3 separate regions of the Homo sapiens genome follow, and all the other regions are linked to region 3. Evidence: promoter capture Hi-C in 16 types of primary human blood cells and fetal thymus (Javierre and others, 2016). All regions are on one chromosome and are shown on one strand. The core of a region is centred on a gene start or on the middle of the fragment in contact, and the rest is flanking DNA. Distances in the headings are between cores, read along the strand shown. Region 1 overlaps SLC44A5 (solute carrier family 44 member 5). Region 2 overlaps ST6GALNAC3 (ST6 N-acetylgalactosaminide alpha-2,6-sialyltransferase 3). Region 3 holds the start of RABGGTB (Rab geranylgeranyltransferase subunit beta).

Evidence for each region. The method cuts DNA at HindIII sites, captures the fragments that hold promoters and counts their contacts. A CHiCAGO score of 5 or more calls a contact.
Region 1: a fragment that was not itself captured here is called in contact with the fragment with the promoter of RABGGTB in region 3 in 2 of 17 cell types (M0 macrophages and M2 macrophages); the score reaches 5.8 in M0 macrophages.
Region 2: a fragment that was not itself captured here is called in contact with the fragment with the promoter of RABGGTB in region 3 in 1 of 17 cell types (non-activated CD4 T cells); the score reaches 5.1 in non-activated CD4 T cells.

The regions. Positions count from the first base shown.
Region 1 is chr1:75,255,762-75,259,296 of GRCh38, reverse strand. The region is part of intron 6 of SLC44A5 (solute carrier family 44 member 5); the gene reads left to right. Among named protein-coding and RNA genes, the nearest start is that of LHX8, 120 kb to the right of the region's middle. The HindIII fragment of the contact is 717 bases long and covers 1,600-2,316 here.
Region 2 is chr1:76,302,416-76,306,167 of GRCh38, reverse strand. The region is part of intron 1 of ST6GALNAC3 (ST6 N-acetylgalactosaminide alpha-2,6-sialyltransferase 3); the gene reads right to left. Among named protein-coding and RNA genes, the nearest start is that of ST6GALNAC3, 230 kb to the right of the region's middle. RefSeq lists an enhancer at 2,385-3,024. The HindIII fragment of the contact is 4,943 bases long and covers 1-3,746 here.
Region 3 is chr1:75,784,721-75,788,225 of GRCh38, reverse strand. It overlaps RABGGTB (Rab geranylgeranyltransferase subunit beta), which reads right to left and starts at 1,970. Exons shown (of 9, transcript NM_004582.4): 1 at 1,952-1,970; 2 at 622-729. The coding sequence starts at 1,954. It overlaps SNORD45C (small nucleolar RNA, C/D box 45C), which reads right to left and starts at 1,154; the gene lies at 1,077-1,154. SNORD45A (small nucleolar RNA, C/D box 45A) reads right to left here and starts at 337; the gene lies at 254-337. RefSeq lists a silencer at 1,879-1,938 and enhancers at 1,999-2,228, 3,169-3,388. The HindIII fragment of the contact is 7,492 bases long and covers 1,240-3,505 here.

The sequences.
Region 1 (3,535 bases), core at 709-3,208, 530 kb after region 3:
TCATCTAACCTTTTCTCAAGGTTCTTAGCTTCCTTGCATTGGGTTAGAACATGCTCCTTTAGCTCAGAGGAGTTTGTCATTACCCATCTTCTGAAGCCTAATTCTGTCAATTTGTCAAACTCATTCTCTGTCCAGTTTTGTTGCCTTGCTGGCGAGGAGTTGTGATCCTTTGCAGGAGAAGATGCATTCTGGTTTTTGGAATTTTCAGCCTTTTTGTGCTGATTTCCCCCCATCTTCATGGATTTATCTACCTTTGGTCTTTAAAGTCAGTGACCTTTGGCTGGGGTCTCTGAGTAGATGTCCTTTTTGTTGCTGTTGATACTGTTCTTTTCTGTTTGTTAGCTTTCCTTCTAACAGTAAGGCCCCTCTGCTGCAGGTCTGCTGGAGTTTACTGGAGGTCCACTCCAGACCCTGTTTGCCTGGGTGTCACTGGCAGAATCGCAGAATGGCCAAGATTGCTGCCTGTTCCTTCCTCTGGAAGCTTCGTCCCAGAGGGGCACCTGCCAGATGCCAGCCAGAGCTCTCCTGTATGAGGTGTCTATTGGCGCCTACTGGGAGGTGTCTCCCAGTCAAGATACCCAGGGGTCAGGGACCCACTTGAGAAGGCAGTCTGTCCCTTATTGGAGCTCAAACGCTGTGCTGGGAGATCTGCTGCTCTCTTCAGAGCTGCCAGCAGGGACTTTTAAGTCTGCTGAAGCTGGACCCCCGACCGCCCCTTCCTCCAGGTGCTCTGTCCCAGGGAGTTGGGGGTTTTATCTGTAAGTCCCTGACTGGGGCTGCTGCCTTTTTTTCAGAGATGCCCTGCCCAGAGAGGAGGAAATCTGGAGAGGCAGTCTGGCAGCAGTGGCCTTGCTGAGCTGTGGTGAGCTCCACCCAGTTCCAACTTCCCAACGACTTTGTAAAACCACCTACTCAAGCCACAGCAATGGCAGACACCCCTTCCCTGACGAAGCTCAAGCATCCCAGGTCGAGCTCAGACTGCTGTGCTCAAAGTGAGAGTTTCAAGCCAGTGGATCTTAGCTTTCTGGTCTCCGTGGTTGTGGGAACTGCCAAGCCAGACCACTTGGTTCCCTGGCTTCAGCCCCCTTTCTAGGGGAGTGAACAGTTCTGTCTCACTGGCATTCCAGGCGCCACTGGGGTATGAAAAAAAACTGTGACTAGCTTGGTGTCTGCCCAAATGGCCACCCAGTTTTGTGCTGGAAACCCAGGGCCCTGGTGGAGTGGGCCCTGGAGTGAATCTTCTGGTCTGCGGGTTGCGAAGACCGTGGGAAAAGCTCAAAATCTGGGCCAGAGTGCATGATACAGTCCCTAATGGCTATTTCCTTAGGCTAGGAGAGGGAGTTCCCTGACCCCTTATGCTTCCTGGGTGAGGTGACAACCCACCCTGCTTTGGCTCGCCCTCCCTGGGCTACACCCACTGTCCAACTAGTCCCACTGAGATGTACTGGTTACCTCAGTTGGAAATGCAGAAATCACCCTTTTTCTGAGTAGTTCTCGCTGGGAGCTGCAGACCAGAGCTGTTCCTATTTAGCCATCTTGCCAGCCACCTTGCTGTTTCTTCTTAGACCTCAGGGAGGGGTGTGAGACCCAGTAGAAGCTTTCTCTTTGGAGCAATGCTGTTATGCAGTCTCCAGGCAATTTCCTATGTTAGTCTCAGTGCCTGAGTGGGTCAAGGGGCTCACCCATGGCTAGAATTGCAGGAGTTTGTGTTGGGAATGTGGACCACTAGGGGTCTCTCACCCTTTTCCTGCATCGGAAAGCCTCTCTAGGTTCCCAGCTGATCCTGGCTGAGCATGCTGCCTCTCTTCACTCTTTTTCCATGCCTTAGCTGTTTCCTGTTCACTTTGGCTGTTGAATTCTGGCATTCTTGCTTAGGTGATCTATTCAAAGTGTGATTATCTACTTGTTATTTTGGTTCTTCTTTGTAGTGCAAGTGGGTACTATATGCTTCTCATCAGCCATTTTGAAGTCCCTCCCTTTTAAGCCTTGCATCCAATTCAGCATCTATGTGAAGCAATAGCAACTTAGTTTTCAATTCACTGACCTCTGACAAAATGGCAAAAATATCTCACAAATCTCTTTGATTGAACTTACTACCAGTATCCACACACAATTTGTTTAATGTTTAAAATTTGAATCAAAATAATATATGCATGTGAAAACAAACAAAATAGTAATGAAGAGTTTATAATAAAAGCAATGGTCTCTCATTCTAGGACTTTTCACCCACACTTTCCTTTCACTGGGACAATCTCTTCTCTCTCTGGTTTTAGTTCTTCTGGCAGTTGGTTTTTACAGAACTTTAAATAATAAGCTTATTTTATTTTGTGCTTATTAAGTTTAGATAATATCCACTGACAGTCTGCTATGGGAAATGAATATTTCTAACTCATATACATTATCTTACTGATCCCCTTCACCCATGTTTGGTAGTTAAATTACTACTTTTGGATTGCCTTGTGGTTACTTTTATGACTTTAAATAGTATGCAATACCTCTACTTCTTGTTCTGCTAACTTTTGTCAGTGTCTCAGCTCATCTTTATGTAAGAGGATATTATCACCCCTACCCTTCTGTCCATCTTTTCGTTCCCTTTCACCTTTTACTTTCTGGAAATACTTTCTATAAATACCATTTTACATGATCAGATTTGTCACCATTTATGTTCAGTTCTGGAACTTCAACAGAATCTTGCATGATGTATTGGTAGGTTGGTTCCAGAATTTGAAAATGATTTTAAAAACTTCTGCTTTGTCATAACTCTACAAACTGTATTCACTGTCAGGCCATTACTTTCTTATTTGTACCATGTCCTTGATATCAAAGCCAAATCTCACACTTCATTAGCAGCATAGGATCATCTCACATTTTAGTTTGCTTCAACATAGTGACTTTCTAACATAATGTTTTGTTTACCCACAAGGTTTTTCTTGGATAGCCTTCATCAGAACAATGTGCTTTTCTGCCATCTCAATCATACTATTTTTCAGGGGCCCCTTTTCCCTGAAGGTCTACCTTGCAGAGCTGCTGTCCTTTTGCTTTACTCAGGACCTGGTAAATTGTAGGCCTATTGCATAGCTTTAATTCTGGGGCTTCTCTACCTTGTTAAATTGTCTTTTTCTAGAGTTAACAGATTTATGAAACAAAAGCACAGAATGCCCAGTTAACTTTTTAATTTCATATAAATAATAATTTTTAGCGTAAGTATGTGAATTTATTGTTTCCTATATCCCAAGGCTGCCTCTCTTTCTGTTGACCCACCTGTTTTCATGGAGAATATTCTCAATTACCTTCCTAAAAAAAGAAAGCATAAGAAGTAAACTTGCTGAGTTCCTATAAATGTCTTCTTTGTCTCTTCATCTTTTCTTTTCTCTTTTTATATTTGATTGATGGTATAGCTATAGAAGTGTAGATTGAAAAACAATTCTTTTCAGAAATGTGAAGACATTGCTCCATCATTTTTGTTATCCAGAATGTCTAATGCCAGTAGAATTCACATACATCATGATAAGTATTTTCCTTTTAGAAAGTACTT
Region 2 (3,752 bases), core at 26-2,525, 520 kb before region 3:
CAGAGTTGGGCAAAATGAATTAAATTTATCCACAAATTGCTGATTTCAAAGTAAATGTAATTATCATGCTTCACACCAGCCTCTTAATTTTCCATATGAATTAGGTATTTTGGTTACTGACAAACTGCATTACAAAATCTACCTAAGGCTGGTACCAGTTTTTAAAATTTCTGAACCAGTTATATGAGAATGTTCCCATTAGTATGAATAACAATTAACAACTTAGTTAATTCACACACTAGAACACAGGCTCTAGAGGCAGAATATCAGAGTTCAAGTCATCTTTACCATTTTCTCCATCTATGACTTTGGGCAGTCACTTCATCTCACTATGCCTCTATTTCTTTGTCTGGAAAACTGAGATTATATAAATAATTCTCTAACTGATAACACTCATTAAACTTCATCCTCTGTTAAGACTATGATGATTATTCATGCACGTACACTCTATCTGGACTATATTCTCCTAGTAAGAGAAAAAAGGCCGATCTGAAAGTAATAATTGCTGGGTTTTGTACTGATAATTTAATATCTGCTGGTGATACCTGATGAAGTAGTCCATGTTTGCTCTTGATATTGTCTTTCCCGAAAGAGTCTTTACCACTTCCCAAACATTGGCCACACCACCTCCAGACTGAGCTTTCCAAAATCAAACCTGATCCTGTCTATCCTACATTTAGATCCCTCTGGACTCTACAGTGTAAGTGCAGACCCTTGGTATGATATACAAGACCTTCCATAATCACATCTCCTCTTGCCTCTCTAGTTCCACTCCTTCTGCCCTATTCAAAGCCTACACTCAATATATTTCTTTTACTATATCACATCTTCTTCATTAGGCTCCCGGATTCTGTCATGCTGTTCATTATCCCAAAGTGATCTTCTTTGAAATTCACATTACTACTCTTTTCTTGATGGTACCAATGATTCTAGCACCCACTATGCTGCCTAAGGCTGCCCTTCTTAAGATTAGATATGGACCTGACCCATCAGGACTTTCCATCATTTTATTACCCTGAAGTTACTTGTTTTTCCATCAAATCCTACTACTTATGGGAAGAAATGTTCTCCAATCCACCTGTTGCCCTCACTCAGATCCCACCCCTGTGCGCCGGGCATTCTGTTGAGGAAAGGGAGGTGCTAACTAACCAGGAACAATGAAGGTAATCGGAACAGGTGCTTTTGTTTAATTCTCAGCTACCTTATAGGCTTCATTGGTTGTATGTGGCTTCTGCGAACCTCTGCTTGTCATCTTTTCACTCTAAACGAGATGAGTTTGTCTCTTAGAATCCATTCGTACCTCCAAGGTGTTCAGGACACAGAAGCAGAGCATAAGTGTAAATTCTGGTGGTCCTGGTGTCATTAGGGAGGAAGTCCTGCCAGAGGCATCCCGACAATGATGAAAATGACTACGATGATAATGACATCAGCTGGAATCTCTTATTTTTCTGTGAATCTACATGACCTTACATTAAATGGCATTTATCCTCACACCTCACATGCATCTCTCTGTAACAAGTGAAGTGAGAAGGGAAGTCTCCTCTCCCATCTCTCCCTTTCCTGTCCTCCATGTTTCAAGCTGGACTTCTCAGCCTTCTCTAAAGCCCCTTTGCTATCCAGTTACTGTGACCTTGTTCATGCTGCTCCTCCTGGCCCCCTTGCTGTATTCTACCATCCTCATCTCTGCAAGTTCCAATATAACTTGCTCAGAGTGTTTCCCCCATAAAGCATTTGTTCCTCCTTGGCTTCTAGTTCATGGATAAGGGTGGGGTGGGATGGGGTGGATGGAGAAAGAAGATGGAGGAAAGAGGGAAGAGGGAGAGTGGAGGGAGAAAGGAAGGGAGGGAAGGAGAGAAAGATTCCCCCTTAATTTTGTCTTTGAAAATTTCTTCAGGACATGAACAAAATCTGAGAAATATATCTCATAAGGCAGTATCAAGCACAATGTCTTTAACAGAAAATATTCAGTAAATATTTGTGGAAGAAATGAAAGAATGAAGGAGAGAAAGAAGGAAGGACAGAGGGATTAAATGATTTTTTCTAAATATAAGTCCTAAATTATTTCAAAAATTTCAGATTCAGATTATTATAAAAATATGTTTTTTCATAAAAGAAAAAAGGCAATTTTCTTTTTTTTTCTTAATTCATCTCACTTTAAGATTTCTGTGTAGATTTGAGGTGAATGTGGTGGGGAATGGGAAAGTGAGGGAGAGGGTTAGGGTGTGAAATATAAAGAGAAGTGAGAAAAATTTAAAATATAAAGAGAAGTGAGAAAAATTTAAACATTTGTTAAACTGGACTTTTTACTAGGAAATTTACTAGGAAATTGCTTTGAAGTTCCTGATAGAACTTGTAAATCTGAATGGTGATAAACTAGTAAACCTGCTTGGAGCAACATTTTTTATATGGCACATAATGAAAAGGCTTACAAGAATCCATATTTTTTAGATAATCAACTCTTGTCTGAGATTGACAACACTTAAAGCTAGAATCCTATATCATGGAATGAGAAATAGATAACAAAAGAGTATCCTATTCTTCTGATAAGGACAATAGCTTATTTTTTAGTGGAAGGGACTTGCAACAGCTCACTATGTACTCAGCAAGTATCAGGCATTATGCCAAGTACTTTACAAAGCTAAAAGTGGATTCTCACCAGGGGTGTACCGGTAGACTCAGGTGGTCAAGTTACACTAATGAGGCAAGAGAATAGGGTCTGGAGGCAGGGAACCTAAGGCCGTTTCACGCTGACTTCCTAGGACTAAATTGAAAGAAAAACCCTAACTTTCCACTGGCTAGGTAACAAAAGGACCAGAGACCACTCCCTTTGCAAAACCCCACTTTTTCTAGGTGGCAGATTGAAAATGGAAAGTATCTCTGATTGGTTGCTTTTTGCAACCAATCAGATGCTTGCATGGGAGTGTGACCTATGAAACTTCACTTCAGCCTCTGATTAACTGCTGTCTGCAACCAATCAGACTGATTGTGGGCCAAGTCTTCGTTTGCATAGAAATGTAACTTTGTAACATCACTTTAGCCTCTGATTGGTTGCAGAAAACTTGCATAGGACTGTGACCTTTGTAACTCAGCCTCTGATTGGTTGCTTTCTGCAACCAATCGGACTGGTTGCAGACCACCACTTCATTTACATGAGGTGAACACCACTTCATTTACATCAGGCTAATGGGAAACCTCTAGGGGGTATTTGGACCTGAGAAGATTCTGCATCCAGGCCCTTGAGCCCCTTATGCTCTGGCCACTCCCACCCTGTGGAGTGTACTTTCGTTTTCAATAAGTCTCTGCTTTTGTTGCTTCATTCTTTCCTTGCTTTGTTTGTGTGTTTTGTGCAATTCTTTGTTCAAAACGCCCAGAACCTGGACACCCTCCACTGGTAACACTAAGTGAGTCAATATGTGCAACCCTGGGCACACAGCATACGTTTTCTTACCTAAAATTGGGGAAAATAAGAGTACCCATCTAATATAATTATTGAAGGTTTAAATGAGTTATCGCATATAAAAAGCCCTTAGAGCACTGCCTGGTAAAAGGAAAGTGCTAAGTAAATGTTAGCTTTTATTGTTACAGTAGTTCATCAGCTATAAGAGACCATCGATTGTTAGTCACACTGTTACTCTAAATAGAATAAGAAAGAAAAGTAAGATGGGAGTCTAATAAGAGACCTCTGCAAAAAGCTGAAACACCAAACAGCTATTCCCTTAGCACTAGAATATGCCAGAAAGAAAGCTTCCATT
Region 3 (3,505 bases), core at 721-3,220:
GAAACGAGTCCAGCCCCATCCATATGGCCTTAACTCCATGATTGCTAATAGAGTATTTTCAAGGTTATGGGAACCTAACACTTAAGTAAAAAATTAATACATACCATATATCCCACAAATCGGTAGACTAAGACAACTGAGTTTGGATACTACAGGGAAAAACATTTACTCTTAACTAAGTTGTTTACTACTTTTTGCTAAGATTGTCCCAGAGTTTTCCTCGAAATTTAAAAATTTAAGGTAAAACTTTTTCAAGGTCTCAGAGTAATTCTAGAGCTAAAGTGTTATTACACATCAGCAATAGATTCAGATAATACATGCCAACACATCATTGACCTTGAAAGTATTACCCCTAACTACAAAAAGAGAAACCCGTTTTGTACCTCAAACCCTCATCTACTTTGTCTGGCAAGCCCTCTCAGTATAGGTAAAAACTGAGATTCTAATAAGCCCACAGCCTCAGACGTCCAAAGCACACTTAACTGAAGTTCAAAGGCACAGCACATCCTCAGTTCTCTGCATGGAGTTGGATGCCATTTTAAGACATAAATACTGTCTCACTGCTTATGACTGTCACACTTCTTTAAAATAAACTTTCCAACATAAAAAAATTATACATACATAATCATCTTTCTTTGAGCCATAGGATGCGATATAATCTGCATGTTTCTCCAATAACAAAGTGTCCGGTGCATCTGACTTGATAATAACATCCTTCTGTGGAGTGCCCTTTCAAAATAAAGTGGTAATCTCATCAATGTTTACCTCTACAACGTTCTTCTGCCCCACAGCATAGATTCAACATACATCTCAATTTTCACTTGATTTCATCTTGTAATAGGAAAACGTTCCATTTAAAAATTGTAACTAACTAGGGAGGCTGAGGTAGAAGATCGCTTGAGCCAGGGAAATTAAGGCTGCAGTGAACTGAGGTTGTGTCACTGCACTCCATCCTGGGCGACCGGAGACCGACTCAAAAACAAAACCAAAACAACAACAACAACAACAAATTGTATCCAACAAAAAAGAACTTAAATCATTCAGGCTTCGTCTTAGTCACGATTCAGGTAATTTTCAGGTCTCAGAGTAATTCTAGAGCTAAAGTAGTAATAATCAACTTTAGATTCAGAATACATGCCAACTCATCATTGACCCAAAAAATTACCACCAGCATTTCTTGTTGTTCACTTTTCATTCAAAAAGATAAGTAAAAAATAAACACCATAGAATATCAAAGCTTATCATTTCAGGACAACTTACGGTTTACATGTGGCAGAAAGCATATTTTTAAAAAATAAAAAAATCTAACCCTTAACTTGCAAGCGAATTCTTGCTTAATCAAATGCAGGTTTCAAAGCACCTTCTAAGTACCCCAAAAGTTGTTCAAATGTATTAAATAAGCAGTTCCTTTAGCTCCATCTTCTCCACCTTTAATCCGAGTCTCTGTATTTGCAGAAGTCCCCATGTGATGCGGCTCTAGTTCTTTTCGTATCTATATCTTCCTCATTGAGAGTACACTGCAGTCACTATAACAGGTCATGAAGATTACCGGAAGTGATTAAGTACCGAATTTTCTTCTGATCCCATTAAAAATCTTAAAGCGAGACCACATCACTAACGATTTTAAAGAAATCTTTGACACCCCCTCTCCAAGAAAAAAAAAAGCCACCAATCAGCCACAGCTTTTTAGAGGGGTTCAGAAATCGGGCTGCTCAACTCTTAACAGGCCCTCCCTACAGAAGAAGGCCTGGATAAAATTAGAAGCGGCATTGCCCGCGAGGTCTGCAGAAAACGCTGAGTAATATTTCACACTCAAAAAACCTTCCAAGGCCTGTGTCCTAACCATTCTCCAGCACCAGGAAACCAATCCTAAGGTGACCAGTGTGCTTAACCCTACTCCACCCTGTCTGCTACCAACCCATCCGGACAGCAGCGCTAAACTCACACTTACCATGTCTAACAGGGAAAGGAGAGAGCAGGGTCAGTTCCTGGGTAGACTTAGGAGCCGGGCGCCTGCGCAGATGCGCCTCTCAGGCCCCCATCGCGCTCCGATATAGCTGACCACACTTTCGCCTGCAAGGCAGAGCAGTTCCACGGCTGCCGTAGGACCCCACTGATCGCTCATAGGTGTCCTCACTGCCTGCGTCCAAAGTCCTGCGACCATATGCTTGTCCCATAGTCACTCCGATTTGTCTAGAAACAGTTTTAAATAATATTTAAATATCTGAGTTGCTTTTAAGAAATCATTTGTTCTAGCTGGACGCGGTGGCTTACGCCTGTAATCCCAGCACTTTGGGAAGCCGGACAGCAGGATTGCTTGATCCTAGGAGTGTAACCACCCAATATTGTGGTTCACTTTGCCTGCTGCTGACCGATAGCCCATTTATCAAGACAGGGGACTTGCAATGGAGTCTCCCCAAGCAGTATTCAGAGTTTTTAAAGATAATTCGGCGATTAGGGGCTTGGGAAGTAGGGAGTGCTGATGGGTCAGGTTGGAGATGGACTCATAGTGGGTAGACGTGAGTTTTTCTTGCTGTTTTCTGTTCCTGGGTAGGATGGCAGAACTGGTTGAGCCAAATTACCAATCTGGGTGGTTTCAACTGATCCATGGAGAGCAGGGTCTGCAAAATATCTCAAGAACTTATCTTAGGTTTTACAATAGTGATGTTATCCCCAGGAGCAATTTGGGGAGGTTCAGAAACTTGGAGCCAGAGGCTGCATGACCTCTAAACTGTAATTTCTAATCTTGTAGCTAATCTGTTGGTTCTGCAAAGGCAGACTGGTCCCCAGGCAAAAAAGCGGTCTTTTTGGGAAAGGGATATTATCAATTTTGTTTCAGAGTCAAACCATAAACTGAATTCCTCCCTAAATTGGTTCAGCCTAGGCTCAGGAATGAAGAAGGACAGCTTAAAAGTTAGAAGCGGCCGGTGGCTCACGCCTGTAATCCCAGCACTTTGGGAGGCCAAGGCGGGCGGATCACGAGGTCAGGGGATCGAGACCATCCTGGCTAAAACCCCGTCTCTACTACAAATACAAAAAATTAGCCGGGCGTGGGGGTGGGCGCCTGTAGTCCCATCTACTCCTGAGGTTGAGGCAGGAGAATGGCTTAAACCCGGGAGGCGGAGCTTGCAGTGAGCAGAGATCACGCCACTGCACTCCACCCTGGGCGACAGAGCGAGACTAGTCTCAAAAACAAAAGTTAGAAGCAAGATGGAATCCGTTAGGTCTGATTTCTTTCACTGCCATAATTTCCTCAGTTATAATTTTGCAAAGGCGGTTCCAGGAGATCCAGACCAGCCTGGGCAATGTTGCAAGACCCCCGTCTCTACAAATAATAAAAATATGAGCCAGACGTGGTTGCCCAAGCCTGTGGTTTCAGCTACTGGGGAAGCTGAGGTGAGAGAATTACTTGAGCTGTGGGGCAGGGGGTGGAGGCTACAGTGAGCGGTGATAATGCCACTGCACTGCAGGGTGTGAGACAGAACGAGACCATGTCTCAAAAAAA